Linked DNA regions of Homo sapiens: all the other regions are linked to region 3. Evidence: promoter capture Hi-C in human tissues and cell types (Jung and others, 2019). All regions are on one chromosome and are shown on one strand. The core of a region is centred on a gene start or on the middle of the fragment in contact, and the rest is flanking DNA. Distances in the headings are between cores, read along the strand shown. Region 1 overlaps LOC101927284 (a long non-coding RNA gene). Region 2 overlaps LOC101927284 (a long non-coding RNA gene). Region 3 holds the start of SOX21 (SRY-box transcription factor 21).

Region 1 (4,150 bases), core at 1,575-4,074, 120 kb before region 3:
GGAGGGTTGTATTTTTCCAGGAGTTTATTCATCTCTTCTAGGTTTTCTAGTTTATGTGCATAAAGGTATTCATAGTAGCTTTGAATGATCTTTTGTATTTCAGTGGTGTCAGTTGTAATATCTCCTGTTTCTTTTCCTAGTGAAGTTATTTGAATTTTCTCTCTTCTTTTCTTGGTTAATCTTGCTAATGATCTATCAATTTCATTTATGTTTTCAAAGAACCAGCTTTTTTTCCATTTATCTTTTGTATTTTTTTGTTTCAATTTCATTTAGTTCTGCTCTGATCTTGGTTATTCCCTTTCTTCTGCTGGGTTTGGGCTTGGTTTGTTCTTGTTTCTCTAGTTCCTTGAGGTGTGACCTTAGAATGTCCATTTTTTTTTTTTTTTTAAGAATGCAGTATCTTCTTAAAATTCCAAGTAGAATTTTTGAAGCTTCTTTTATGTTCACTGCATAAGCTCTGAAGTTGGTTGTCCTGTTTTTTGTTCTGATGCCTTCTCTCCGGTGCCATAGTTTATCATTGAATTTCTGGCTGTCTTTTGTTGCGTTTGTGCAGAGGCGGCTATCTGTCCACCAAAATCTGCTCTTCTTGGGTCATGGCTAGACTGTATTTTCTAGACATGTTTGCAGTTAAGTGTTCTATCCAAGGTAATGAGCCTCTTCTAGGTGGATACTTTCAAGAGCATGATCATGACCCCTTCACAATTTCATCCCCTCTTTCTGCAGACTGAAGTGATCCCGGGTACCATGGTTGACGATGGCTGAACTGCTCTCCAGAACGATTGCATGAAAAGAGCCGCCTGCTGATTGTATGGCTGCTGGATAGGAAAATGGATCCTTATATTTCTTAAGCTACTGAATAATTGTTAGGTATCTTGTTACAGCATCATTTTTTATTATTCTATTGAGACATGGTCTCGCTGGAGTGCAGTGGTACAAACACAGCTCACTGCAGCCTAGACATCTTCAGCGCAAATGATCCTCCTGCCTCAGCCTCCCATGTAGCTGAAACCACAGTACAGCATCTAAACCTACCTTTGTCATATACGATCCTAATTAAGAAGCTTGTGTGGATGGCTTCTAGATATGGGTAGTCCTGTTTTCTTTCCAGGCCTTCTCTTAAAAGGCAGATGACTATAAGAAATGTGTGTGCCTATAGGGCATGTCGACTTTATGGTCTGTTGGCAGGGAGCTGGTAAAACATTTCTTTTTTATGCCAAAATAAAGAAGTCTTAGCTCTAAGTATCCATAGTCACTCTCTGTTCCCTAGATCTCTCCAACCAATTATTTCTTCACAGAGCAATGTCTGATTTTAATCTGAGACTAAAGATCCTGCCCATACTTGTAGTGGGTAGGGATGGGGGAAAAAGAGCCCATTTGGGTAAGTGTTCCAGAAACTACCCTTCAATGAACCACTTCCGTTTCTGCCTATGTGTCACTCACTCCTACTCTATGTTGCCACCCCTGTGCTTGGAGCCTCTCTCTGGCTCATCCCGCAAAAGAATGTTCCCATCCCCACTCCTCCTTCAGGAACCAGCACATCCTGCTCCAGGCATCATCCCTCAACATCATTCCTTCTCCTTCCCAATTGCCGGAAATCCATCGGCCTTTCTGCTCCATTGATGCTCCTTTTCCCCCTCCTCTCAAGCTCACTTACTCAATTTTGTTCTTCTTTGTTGTCATCCGAATGGCATTTTGGTGGACAGGAGAGTAAACGTCTGTGTTTAGTCCGCCATCTTGGATTAGTAGGCAATACTTTTTTTTTTTTTTTTTTTTTGAGATGGAGTCTCGCTCTGCAGCCCAGGCTGGCGTGCAGTGGCGCGATCTTGGCTCACTGCAACCTCTACCTCCTGAGTCACGGTTCAAGCAATTCTCCTGCCTCAGCCTCCTGAGTAGCTGGGATTACAGGCACATGCCACCATGCCCAGGTACTTTTTGTATTTTTAGTAGAGACGAGGTTTCACAGAACTCACTTTTTGAGATACAGAGACTTTATGAGGAGAAGGAATCAGAATTTCACTCTTCTCACTGAGGTCTTGGGAATTAGCTTTTAAGGAACAAGTTGTTCTGTAATTACACCCATTAGAAAGTGACAGTAAGCAACCACCAAAATGCCCCATGCCCCACTGGCCTGTGCGCACAACACGGTCATCTCAGCAGGAACATCCAAGTTCCCATGGCTCTCACCCCTGACCTGAACATGCAGGAAGTCCACTTCCTTGAGGATCACCTCTCTCCAAATATTTCTGCTAACTCGCGAGAGGTATTTTACATGTTTTCTTGAATCAGTATCTTCCTTTCTCTTGTCATACTGGGGCTCTGACCAAATGACAACATCCCTGGGCTACTAGAGTTGGAATTCGGCACCTCCTGACTTAGCCACTGCCTTCCTGGTGCCAGTCAGAGCCGGCATTTTCCTGCCTCCTCACCTGCCAGCCAGGCGGACCTTGTGGGGTTGGAAGGCAAACATTCCTTCTTTCTCTGTTATTCTCCGTTGGGAAAGGTCTCACAGCAAGGTTGCTTTTGCCCCAGCATACAAAGGAATGAAATCAGGAACAGCTCTGTTCTCTAACATGAGCTAACCATGGCACTTCTACTTGAGTGCGAGTGGCCATCTTGGTGCAGATTCCGTTTGAGATTCACCAAGTGACTGATGATGCTCTGACCCTGGCGAGGCTGGTGCTGCTGGGCAGGCTCTTAGGAAGGGAGAAGGCAGACCGTGCTCATTCAGCTCATCTCTGCTGATTGAAGAGGGAGGATGGGATGGCAGGGTGAGAATTTTATTGTGTAAAGCTTGGGCCCAACATCCTAAAAGATTCGTGAAGCAATTCTTCCTCTTCACATGAACCCCAGTTTGTTCGAGGCAGCAACAATGCCCAGGAAACTACGGCCCCTGTCAAAGATCCACTGCTCGGTCTGGCTGACTCTGCCCTTCTCCTTCCCTTTGAATAGAAACTTGTTTCTGTCACCTCTCCCTCCTCCAATCCGATCATGTCACTATGTCTGACCAATAACTCTGGGCAGAACTCGTGTCCCCTTCCCCAAAGGAGCCCCCTTCGTCCCATGTAAGTCAGTAAATGAAATAGATTCTGAGAGAAGATGGTGTCACTTTAGGTCACATGCAGGATCCAAGGCTTGAAAGGAGATTCTCTTTTTCCAGACCTGACTTATGTTTCCTCTTGCATATTGGCAATCTGTGTATTACCAATTTTCCCTGACTCTGTGGGATAATTGAATCAAAAAGCAACTCTTAAATATCAAGAGAGCCCACTAGTAGCCAGACAGAAAAGGCCTCATTATATGAAATGCTCCCATCTGGGCTTTGAGCAGGGCCATGTCTGGAATCTAAGCCCATGCATAAGTGAATGTCCATCTGAGGGTCACTGTTCTCCCTCTGTGGGTGTGAGGGAAGGTGCCAGGTGAACAACCCCCTCCGGGAAGTCAGGGTACCTGCACAACCAAGTGGCCACACAGCTGAGTGCCTTAAACAACCGAAATGTATTGTCTCACCATTCTGGAGGCCAGAAATCTAATATCGAAGTGTGGACCGGGTTGGTTTCTTCTAAGGGCTGCAAGGGAGAATCTGTTCCATGCCTCTCCCCTTGCTTTTGGTGGGTTATCTGGCAATTTTTGTTGTCCCATGGCTTGTAGAAGAATCATCTGATCTCCATCTTCATCTTCTCATGGTCTTCTTTCTTTCTCTCTCTCTCTGTGTGTGTGTGTGTGTGTGTGTGTGTGTGTGTGTGTGTCTATGTCCAAGTTCTCCCTTTACATAAAGGGGCCAGTCTGAACTCATGGTATACCTAATTAAATCTGCAACAACCTGATTTCCAGATGAAGTCAGATTCTGAGGTCCTGGGGGTTAGAACTTCAACATACAAATTTCGGGATGAGGGGAAACACAATTCAACCCATATTCTTTTCTTGGCTTGGACAAATTATTTTACCTCCCTATACCTTAATTTCTAATATGTACGACCTAGAGTTGTTGCAAGATAAGAGGGCAAGTACAGCGTTCAGCATAGTGAACATTCAGTAAATTTTAGCTATTAGGATGAACGTGCTTTGGTTTCATTTTCAGTACTTCTTTCAAAGAGTCCCACTTGGTATTGTTTGATTGCAGTTGTGGATGTTGCCCATTTCCCTGGGGAAT
Region 2 (4,068 bases), core at 975-3,474, 100 kb before region 3:
TTGTATTTCAAATAGTTTTTAAAAGCTGAAGGAGAAAGGATTACTTCAAAGAAAGTGTGAGAGGTGATGGATGGAAAAAAGACTCTGTTTATTTTATGCAATTTGGATTTTTTATCATTTTAATATATTAATTGGTTATTCATATTATAAGAACAGGGAGAAGGAAAAGTAGGAGGAGGAAGAAGAGGAAGAGGAGGAGAAGAATGTAGAGACTTTTTAAGAGGCCAAGTGTGATGAAATTAACTGAGCTGTCAACATGGAGAAAGGGTAAGCGTGAGCATAGTTCCTGCAGGAAGCAGAAAGGTGGCATGGAAGGACAGTTCTGTGTTGGCTTCAAGCAGTGAAGGACATTTTGGCCACTGTCCACAGTAGAAGGTAACAGAGGGGCCTTTAAATAGAGAGGGAGGAAAACACATTTTTTACTCTTACCACTCCTTCGCTCTTTCTTCTATGTGTTCCCTCTCTTCCCCTAATTCTTTTATTTATTTATTTATTTATTTATTTATTTATTTATTTAGGCAGAGTCTCACTCTGTTTTCTAGGCTGGAGAGTGGTGGAGCAATCTCGGCTCACCGCAACCTCCGCCTCGCAGGTTCAAGTGATTCTTCTGCCTCAGCCTCTCCAGTAGCTGGGATTACAGGAGCCTACCACCACGCCCGGCTCATTTTTTGTATTTTTAGTAGACACAGGGTTTCATTATGTTGGCCAGGCTTGTCTAACACTCCTGGCCTCAAGCAATCCTCCTGCCTCGGCCTCCCAAAGTACTGGGATTACAGGCGTGGCCACCGCACCTGGCCCCTCCTCCTAATTCTTATTCATCCTTCAAGTCTTTTTTTTTTTTTTTTTTTTTTTTTTTTTTTTTGAGACGGAATCTCTGTCTGTCCCCAGGCTGGAGTGCAGTCGCGCGATCTCGGCTCACTACAAGCTCCGCCTCCCGTGTTCATGCCATTCTCCTGCCTTAGCCTCCTGAGTAGCTGGGACTACAGGCGCCAGACACCACGCCCGGCTAATTTTTTGTATTTTTAGTAGAGACAGGGTTTCACCATGTTAGCCAGGATGGTCTTGATCTCCTGAGCTCGTGACCCGCCCGCCTCGGACTCCCAAAGTGCTGGGATTACAGGCGTGAGCCACCGCTCCCAGCCTCAGGTCTTAAGAAATATTCTCCTCATTCTTTGTTATACATTCCCAAGCCCCATTACAATCCATTTTTTTGGTAACAATTTCCGAAGTTTATTGTACTGTAAACTTCGTGAAGGTAAGGATCATTTTTATTTTATTTACCACTAATTCCTTATGCCTAGCACAGAATCTGACACACTGAAATCAATAAATGGCTAATTAAATCATGAATGAACAAATCTCGAATGCCTACATGAAACGTGATATGCAACTGGCCGTTTATATTTGTATTCATTCTTAACTCCAGTGTTTATAATAGGAGAATGCAAACCAAAGCTAAGTTTTTGCCAACAAGTTTATTATGTAACATCTGACATGATTTTAGATTCTCTAATAAAATCTTCCATGCACCAGGCACCAAAAACTTCCAAAGTGAATTACCAGACTGTCTTAAGTTTGTCAAAAATTTCATGAATGTAGCGGAAAGTTGCACTGTCACCTCTAGAGTGTCAAAAAGATACTTTTTCACAGGTGTTTTTCAAAAGTTTTAAGTTGCAATTTTTTAATGATATGCATGTGCTAGGCATAAAGTGAGATTTCCCTAAAGTATTAATAGTGTGGACCAACAGTTGCTACCTCCCTTGACTCTGATACAAAGTACTTTAAGTTGGAAGAGTATGCTAAAATACATTTTTAAAACATTTTAGAGATGTACTAATTTTTTTTAAAAGTAGATTTATAGTAAAACTTGGAAGCCTGGATTTAGTTTCATATAATTTAATGGCAAATAATTTTAATTAAAACATGCTTTCAAATATAAGGTGTGTTGGGATTAAATAATGGCAATGTAACGGAATCAAGAAAATTAGACTCTTTGCTTGAACACCTAAGCTCTCAACCCAGCTATGTCTCTAACTAGCTATGTAATTACTAATGAGTTATTTACATTCCCTGTGTCTCAGCTTCTTGATACATAAAGTAAAGAGGTTGAATAATTACACATGTAATTATCAACACCTGGTTGCAAAAATGCAAAATAAAGTATGCTACAAAATTCCATTACGTATCTGGGGTCAGCCCAATACCTTTGGAAGTATCTATTCCAACTTTGCTTAAGTTGGAAGTAGCGGCCTTCCATTCCAACTTGTTTTTCCCCCTCAGCAGGACCAAGGTCCATTTTCATTCTTATTCTATGGCCCTCACTTCTGAAGACAGAAACTCAAGAGGTTTGCATTGGTAGACAGAACCCTCGTGGACATTTATCCCCCATGCTGGCATCTGGAGATGGACCATAGCCGGGAAGGCAGGGATATTATCTAGGCTGCTCCATACAGGAGCCTGGACACCAAAAGTTCTTAAAAAGGGCAATTTTCCACAATAGCCACTCTGTCCTGGGAACAGCGACAGGTCTGGCTTTCATTCCCTGAATGCAGCTATGTGGAGTTTAAATTTTGGAGTGTTGATGTTTTCCCCTAAGGAGCTGTTGGAGTACAGAATCCCCATTCTATTGCCACAGACAAAAGGGAGAGCACTGAGGACATTGTTTCAAGTTTCTGTGCCTTTGCTATGAAGAATTTCTGGACTAAAGGGCTCTTCGCTGGCAGTCAATTTGCTTTTGTCCCTTAAAGGAAAGAAATATTCAAGGGGAACTCCCTTAAAGTACTTTCACAATTTTTATTTACATAGAGACATGAGTGTCACTTGTCTTTTTAATGGTTGGTTTGGCCTTTAACATCTGGTGGGGAACTCTGGGGTGAGAGTTAGGAGGAGCTAGAGCAAGATTCGGTTTTGAAAGCTGGTGCACGGTAATTATACACAAGTGCCTCTACTGCCTCACATTCATATTTATTTAGATGGGATGGTCACAGAAAATTCATGTTTAATTTTAGTTATTTCATCAGTTTATTTATTGAAATTGACTGCACATTAGCACGGCCCATGGTGTTGGGGTTTAGTAATTAATAAAGAGCTGCCCTGAAAGAGCTGATACTTTATCCAAGGAAAATGACAAATAAATAGAAATTATAATACAACGTAATAAGTTCACGATGTTTATGTGTGTGAAATATATATATTTTATATTTCTCCTGACAATCATAAAGAAGTTTTGAATAAATGGAAAGACACAGCCTCTTCTTGTACAGACAGATTCAGCATTACACAGATCTCCATCTTCCCTTAAATAATCTATAAACTTATAACAATCCCACTTAAAAGGCCAGTGGGATATTTTTAACTCAGCAAGCTATTTCCAAGTATCATATAGAAAAGCAAATGTTTTAAAAATACTCAAAACTCCTAAAAAAAAGAGTAAGGAGGAGAGACCAGCCCTCCAAGACATTAAAATATATTATCAAGCTACTATAATTAGTGGGATTAGACAAATCAATGGACAAGAACAAAGTCCAGAAAGAGACAAAAACATGTGGAGAAATCGCATATGACAAAGGTGGGATTTCCAAGCAGTGGGGAAAAGATGGTTAACTTTATATCATCCACAGGTTTGGCAGATGTGAGATTTCAGTACACAGCTGGAGTCTGGCCTTCCACCACCTGATTCTTTATACAGTCTTTCTTGCTACATTGGTAGATGCTTCTAGATTAATAAGTTTTTGTGAACTCTAACAATTTGGATGAAAAAAGATCCATGCTGGCAAAGACTTTAGTTTGTGTCATATTAAGTTAGTCTTCGTCTACAGAGTGGATTTCCAAATTAAAAGGGACCACTGCATTTCTTCTTATTCAGTTTGTAGTTTGTAGTTTGTAAATGATCATAAATGTCTAGAGTGTGAAAGGATTGTTTTCAGTTATGTTTTTTATATATAATGCATAAAACAGAAAGCTAAATTTAGGTCTTTTCAATTTGGTTTCAAAAAGTAATGGAGGCTTATGAAAGAAACATGTTATCCATCTGAACATATCCATATATGCACACTCACTTCCAATATA
Region 3 (4,255 bases), core at 1,710-4,209:
TCTTATGACACCTTTGTTTCCCACAGTTCAACATTCTTGGACTTGAGAGTGTTCAAATTTGGCTCATTTAATATCACTAGACAGACAATATTGTAAATGTATACTGGAAAAAACTATAGCCAAGGAACCTTACATATATTATTCCTATAAGACATTGCACATGTAAGCATACATTTCAATCATATATACAAACATTTCTAATGTAATAATTTATTGCAGTAGATTTTTACACTTAAATTTGAATAGTATAAAATCACTTAACTCACTAATATAAAACACATTTTCACAATCCTTCTCCCTTTTTATGTGTCAAAATAATTTTCACGATTAAATTTAACTTTATTCACAATATTTAGTGAATAACAGATTTCATGTTTTGTGGCCTATATATACATATGTTCTTTATGTTCCAGTGTATAGTATTTTTGTCTCAAACCTATAAGTCAGTAGGTGAAAAGCTCAGGGACGATAATTTTGTAGTTTATCATCACAAAACAGTATATTTAATATTCCAGTCTATGTAATTACACATGCTAGTGTTTTCCCATTGCTCCAGCCAGAGTCTGTGAATGACAAGAGTGTCTTTACAGAGCCTGTAAAGGAATATGGTTCTGGAGAAATCAGTCCAATTATTTTAACAATGCAAGGGCATAACCGATACAAAATAAGCTTGTCAATACGACATCTTCAGAAAAACAAAAACCCACATAGATGCCACTGCTGTTCACAGTTTTGTTATCACGACTGTAATTTTTAAGTCACTATTCTTTTATTAAAATGAACAAAACAAGCCTAACTTTTACATAAATCTGATGGCCTGAAACAGTTTTAATTCACGTTCATAATTACAATCAAAGCTTTTGTGTGTGTGTGTGTGTGTGTGTGTGTGTGTGTGTGAATGAACTGAACATAAATCGTAGGAAGACTTAAAGAGTTAACCGTTTGTAGATGTTCCTACTTGCACATACCACAGGGCTAGGTCAAATCCAAACTGCCAAAGAAAGAAGGCAAGCAAGTTCTCCCTGAAGGGCAGGCCACCATGTGAATAAAACCTCCAGACAGATCATGTTCTAAATGTGCCGCAGCATACCAAAAAGTGAGGAAAATACGGAAACAGAATCATGCTGTTTGACTTCTGCATCGTGTTAACTATTTTTTTTAAAAAACTGCTCTAACTACTAAAGAAGGAAATTATGCTTAGCATAAAAATATTCCAGCACTGAGTGATTGGTACGTTTTACTTCTCTCTTCCAGGGAAACTACTTACACTTATTGATTTTAAACACCTTCACCTCAGCAGCGCATGTAAGTGAGACACTGTAAGTTAACTGTACCTTAAAGAGATCAGTATATAGATGGTTCTGGCGACCAAGATTACAACAAAAGACAAACAACACAGAATTTTTAAAGAGCTGAATAGTCAGTCAAGGATGCATACTCTCAGTCTGGGCTAGCTCTTTTTTGGAAAGGTTGCCAAGAATGTCCTTATTCCCTCCAGAGTTATTTTTCACTCCACTACCTCTGACTAGGTGCATCGCCAGTGCAAGAAAATGCGAGAAGCCTCTGTTTCTGTTGCAAGCAACACCTGGACCTCCAAGGAAAATGAGCACTTTCTTGCTAGGAACAGTCTCAAACATTTTCAAGGGTGAGTCTCCCCTTCTCCAGGTTTAACCCTCTTCCTCCGTAGCTGGAGAGGCTCTCCTACTCGTGCCCGCCGCCTTCTTCCTCCCGGCGAGGATTCCAGGGCCACAACCAGGGCAGCTGCACGCCAGGCCGGCCTGGGTAGCCGGGATGACACCAGGGTTTGCCAACGCCAAACAGGGCGCAGACTCCCCGGCGCGCTCCGGACTCTCCACTCGCCTAAACCTGCTCTCAAGTGAAAAGGAGTGGGAGGAGGAGGATTGGGAGGGGGCGGGGGGCGGAGGGGATCTGTTAATTCGAGGTCCTGGGGGTGTGGGAGCGGGAGGCGGCTCCGCTGATCCCTCCTCCCTCCCCGAGTCCTGGGCTCCACCTCCTCCGCAGGCCCCCAGATATACACACACAGCCGCGGCTGGACATGCACACCCAGTGCCGGCTCCGGGCGCGCACACATGCAGGTAGCCACACTCACCTGAGCCGGTGCAGAGGGCGGCCTGGGCTGGGAAGGGGCCCCCTGCGCCGCGGGAGTGGGGAGAGCGGGAGGTGCCACAGCGCGGACCTGCGAACTGAGGTGATGGCCCGTTTTCCTTAACTCTCCTGCAGCACCTCCGCCCCTGCGCCGGCTCGGCTCTGGCCACAGCAGCGAGGACAGAGGGGCCCCGGGCGCGGCGGACTCGCGGGCGCACGCTCCCAGGAGCGCGCCGAGAGGGGCGCCGCGGCGCAGGAAACTTGGGCGAAGTTAGTTGCAAGTGCCAGGCGGCTGCCGAGAAGAGCGAGGCGGGGACGCGGCCGGTGCCAGGCCTGCGGCGCCGCGTGGAGGCTGCGCTGCCCTCCGCGGCCGGCGAGCTCCGGGAGCCCTAAGTCGGCAGGCGCGCCTGAAGGGGCTCGGAGCGAACAGAGCCGGCATGGCCCAGGGGACGGCCGGACGCGGCTCCTCGGCGAGCCGGGAGAACTTCCTCTGAGGCCGGGCGACCAACGCTTGCTCAAGCCTCATCCACCCTCCTTCCTCGCCCCACCCGTCAGTCCAGCAGCGGGAGAGGAAGACTCGAGAGGCAGGTGCTGCGGGGGACAGCTCCCCCCTCCAAAAAAAAAAAATCACCCAGCCGATTGGGGGTTTCCCATCGGCGCACCCTGCCCGGAGCCAAGAAGACAGGCTGGTGCTGCTGTATTTGTATTTATATCCATTGCTGCGCTCTGCGTTCTCGTGGCACGCCTGGACACTCCTCCGCCTCCCCCTCCTCTTCCTCCTCCAGGGCCACCTCCCCGCCTTCCCCACCCCCATCTGCTTCTGTCAAATGAGAAAGTCACCGAGGAGAACCCAAACACTCCAGCCGCTGAGAGCCCCCTTTGGCACTTGGCAGCACGCGGCGGCGGGCTCCTCGGCTCAACTTCGAGGAGTCTCCGCGACGCAACTTTTGGGGACGCTTTGCATTTAAGAGAGAACGACCGAGGAGGAGGAGCGCTCTGCCCGGCCGCCGCTACCTGCGGGGAGCTCACCAGCAAACGCCACTGCAGACGAAGGACCCAAAGAACGTAAAGGGCAAACTGCCGCCGCGGGGAGGGGGCACCGCCGAGAAGTTAGAGTGTCCCAGAGACAACCTGCTCGAGCGCTCGGCCGGAGACACTAAGGCGGCCCGGGGCGCGGCGTGGCCCTGGGCTGGTCCCCCAGCCCCCTCCTCCGGGGCGGGAGCGACGCCGGGGCGCGACGAGCCCCGGCCGGCCGAGCGGGTCTCCGCGGGCAGCCAACATTGATTTCCTCCGGGCCGAGGGCGAGGGCCCGGGAGGCGGCGGGCTGCAGCCGCGGCAGGGCGAGAGCATGTCCAAGCCGGTGGACCACGTCAAGCGGCCCATGAACGCCTTCATGGTGTGGTCGCGGGCTCAGCGGCGCAAGATGGCCCAGGAGAACCCCAAGATGCACAACTCGGAGATCAGCAAGCGCTTGGGCGCCGAGTGGAAACTGCTCACAGAGTCGGAGAAGCGGCCGTTCATCGACGAGGCCAAGCGTCTACGCGCCATGCACATGAAGGAGCACCCCGACTACAAGTACCGGCCGCGGCGCAAGCCCAAGACGCTGCTCAAGAAGGACAAGTTCGCCTTCCCGGTGCCCTACGGCCTGGGCGGCGTGGCGGACGCCGAGCACCCTGCGCTCAAGGCGGGCGCCGGGCTGCACGCGGGGGCGGGCGGCGGCCTGGTGCCTGAGTCGCTGCTCGCCAATCCCGAGAAGGCGGCCGCGGCCGCCGCCGCTGCCGCCGCACGCGTCTTCTTCCCGCAGTCGGCCGCTGCCGCCGCCGCTGCCGCCGCCGCCGCCGCCGCGGGCAGCCCCTACTCGCTGCTCGACCTGGGCTCCAAAATGGCAGAGATCTCGTCGTCCTCGTCCGGCCTCCCGTACGCGTCGTCGCTGGGCTACCCGACCGCGGGCGCGGGCGCCTTCCACGGCGCGGCGGCGGCGGCTGCAGCGGCGGCCGCCGCCGCCGGGGGGCACACGCACTCGCACCCCAGCCCGGGCAACCCGGGCTACATGATCCCGTGCAACTGCAGCGCGTGGCCCAGCCCCGGGCTGCAGCCGCCGCTCGCCTACATCCTGCTGCCGGGCATGGGCAAGCCCCAGCTGGACCCC

Evidence for each region. The method cuts DNA at HindIII sites, captures the fragments that hold promoters and counts their contacts. A contact is called where the count stands out against the background at its distance.
Region 1: a contact is called between a fragment that was not itself captured here and the fragment with the promoter of SOX21 in region 3, in 2 of the 25 tissues and cell types used here (H1 embryonic stem cells and mesenchymal stem cells).
Region 2: a fragment that was not itself captured here is called in contact with the fragment with the promoter of SOX21 in region 3 in 2 of the 25 tissues and cell types used here (heart left ventricle and mesenchymal stem cells).

The regions. Positions count from the first base shown.
Region 1 is chr13:94,832,624-94,836,773 of GRCh38, reverse strand. All of the region lies in intron 2 of LOC101927284 (a long non-coding RNA gene), which reads right to left. Among named protein-coding and RNA genes, the nearest start is that of SOX21-AS1, 120 kb to the right of the region's middle. The HindIII fragment of the contact is 4,155 bases long and covers 747-4,150 here.
Region 2 is chr13:94,812,883-94,816,950 of GRCh38, reverse strand. The region is part of intron 2 of LOC101927284 (a long non-coding RNA gene); the gene reads right to left. Among named protein-coding and RNA genes, the nearest start is that of SOX21-AS1, 100 kb to the right of the region's middle. The HindIII fragment of the contact is 8,611 bases long and covers 1-4,068 here.
Region 3 is chr13:94,711,249-94,715,503 of GRCh38, reverse strand. SOX21 (SRY-box transcription factor 21) reads left to right here and starts at 2,959. Exons shown (of 1, transcript NM_007084.4): 1 at 2,959-4,255. The coding sequence starts at 3,455. SOX21-AS1 (SOX21 antisense RNA 1) reads right to left here and starts at 2,788. Exons shown (of 2, transcript NR_046514.1): 1 at 2,111-2,788; 2 at 1-1,866. LOC112268114 (a long non-coding RNA gene) reads left to right here and starts at 2,061. Exons shown (of 2, transcript NR_158368.1): 1 at 2,061-2,096; 2 at 2,242-2,784. RefSeq lists an enhancer at 1,734-2,235. The HindIII fragment of the contact is 11,141 bases long and covers 1-4,255 here.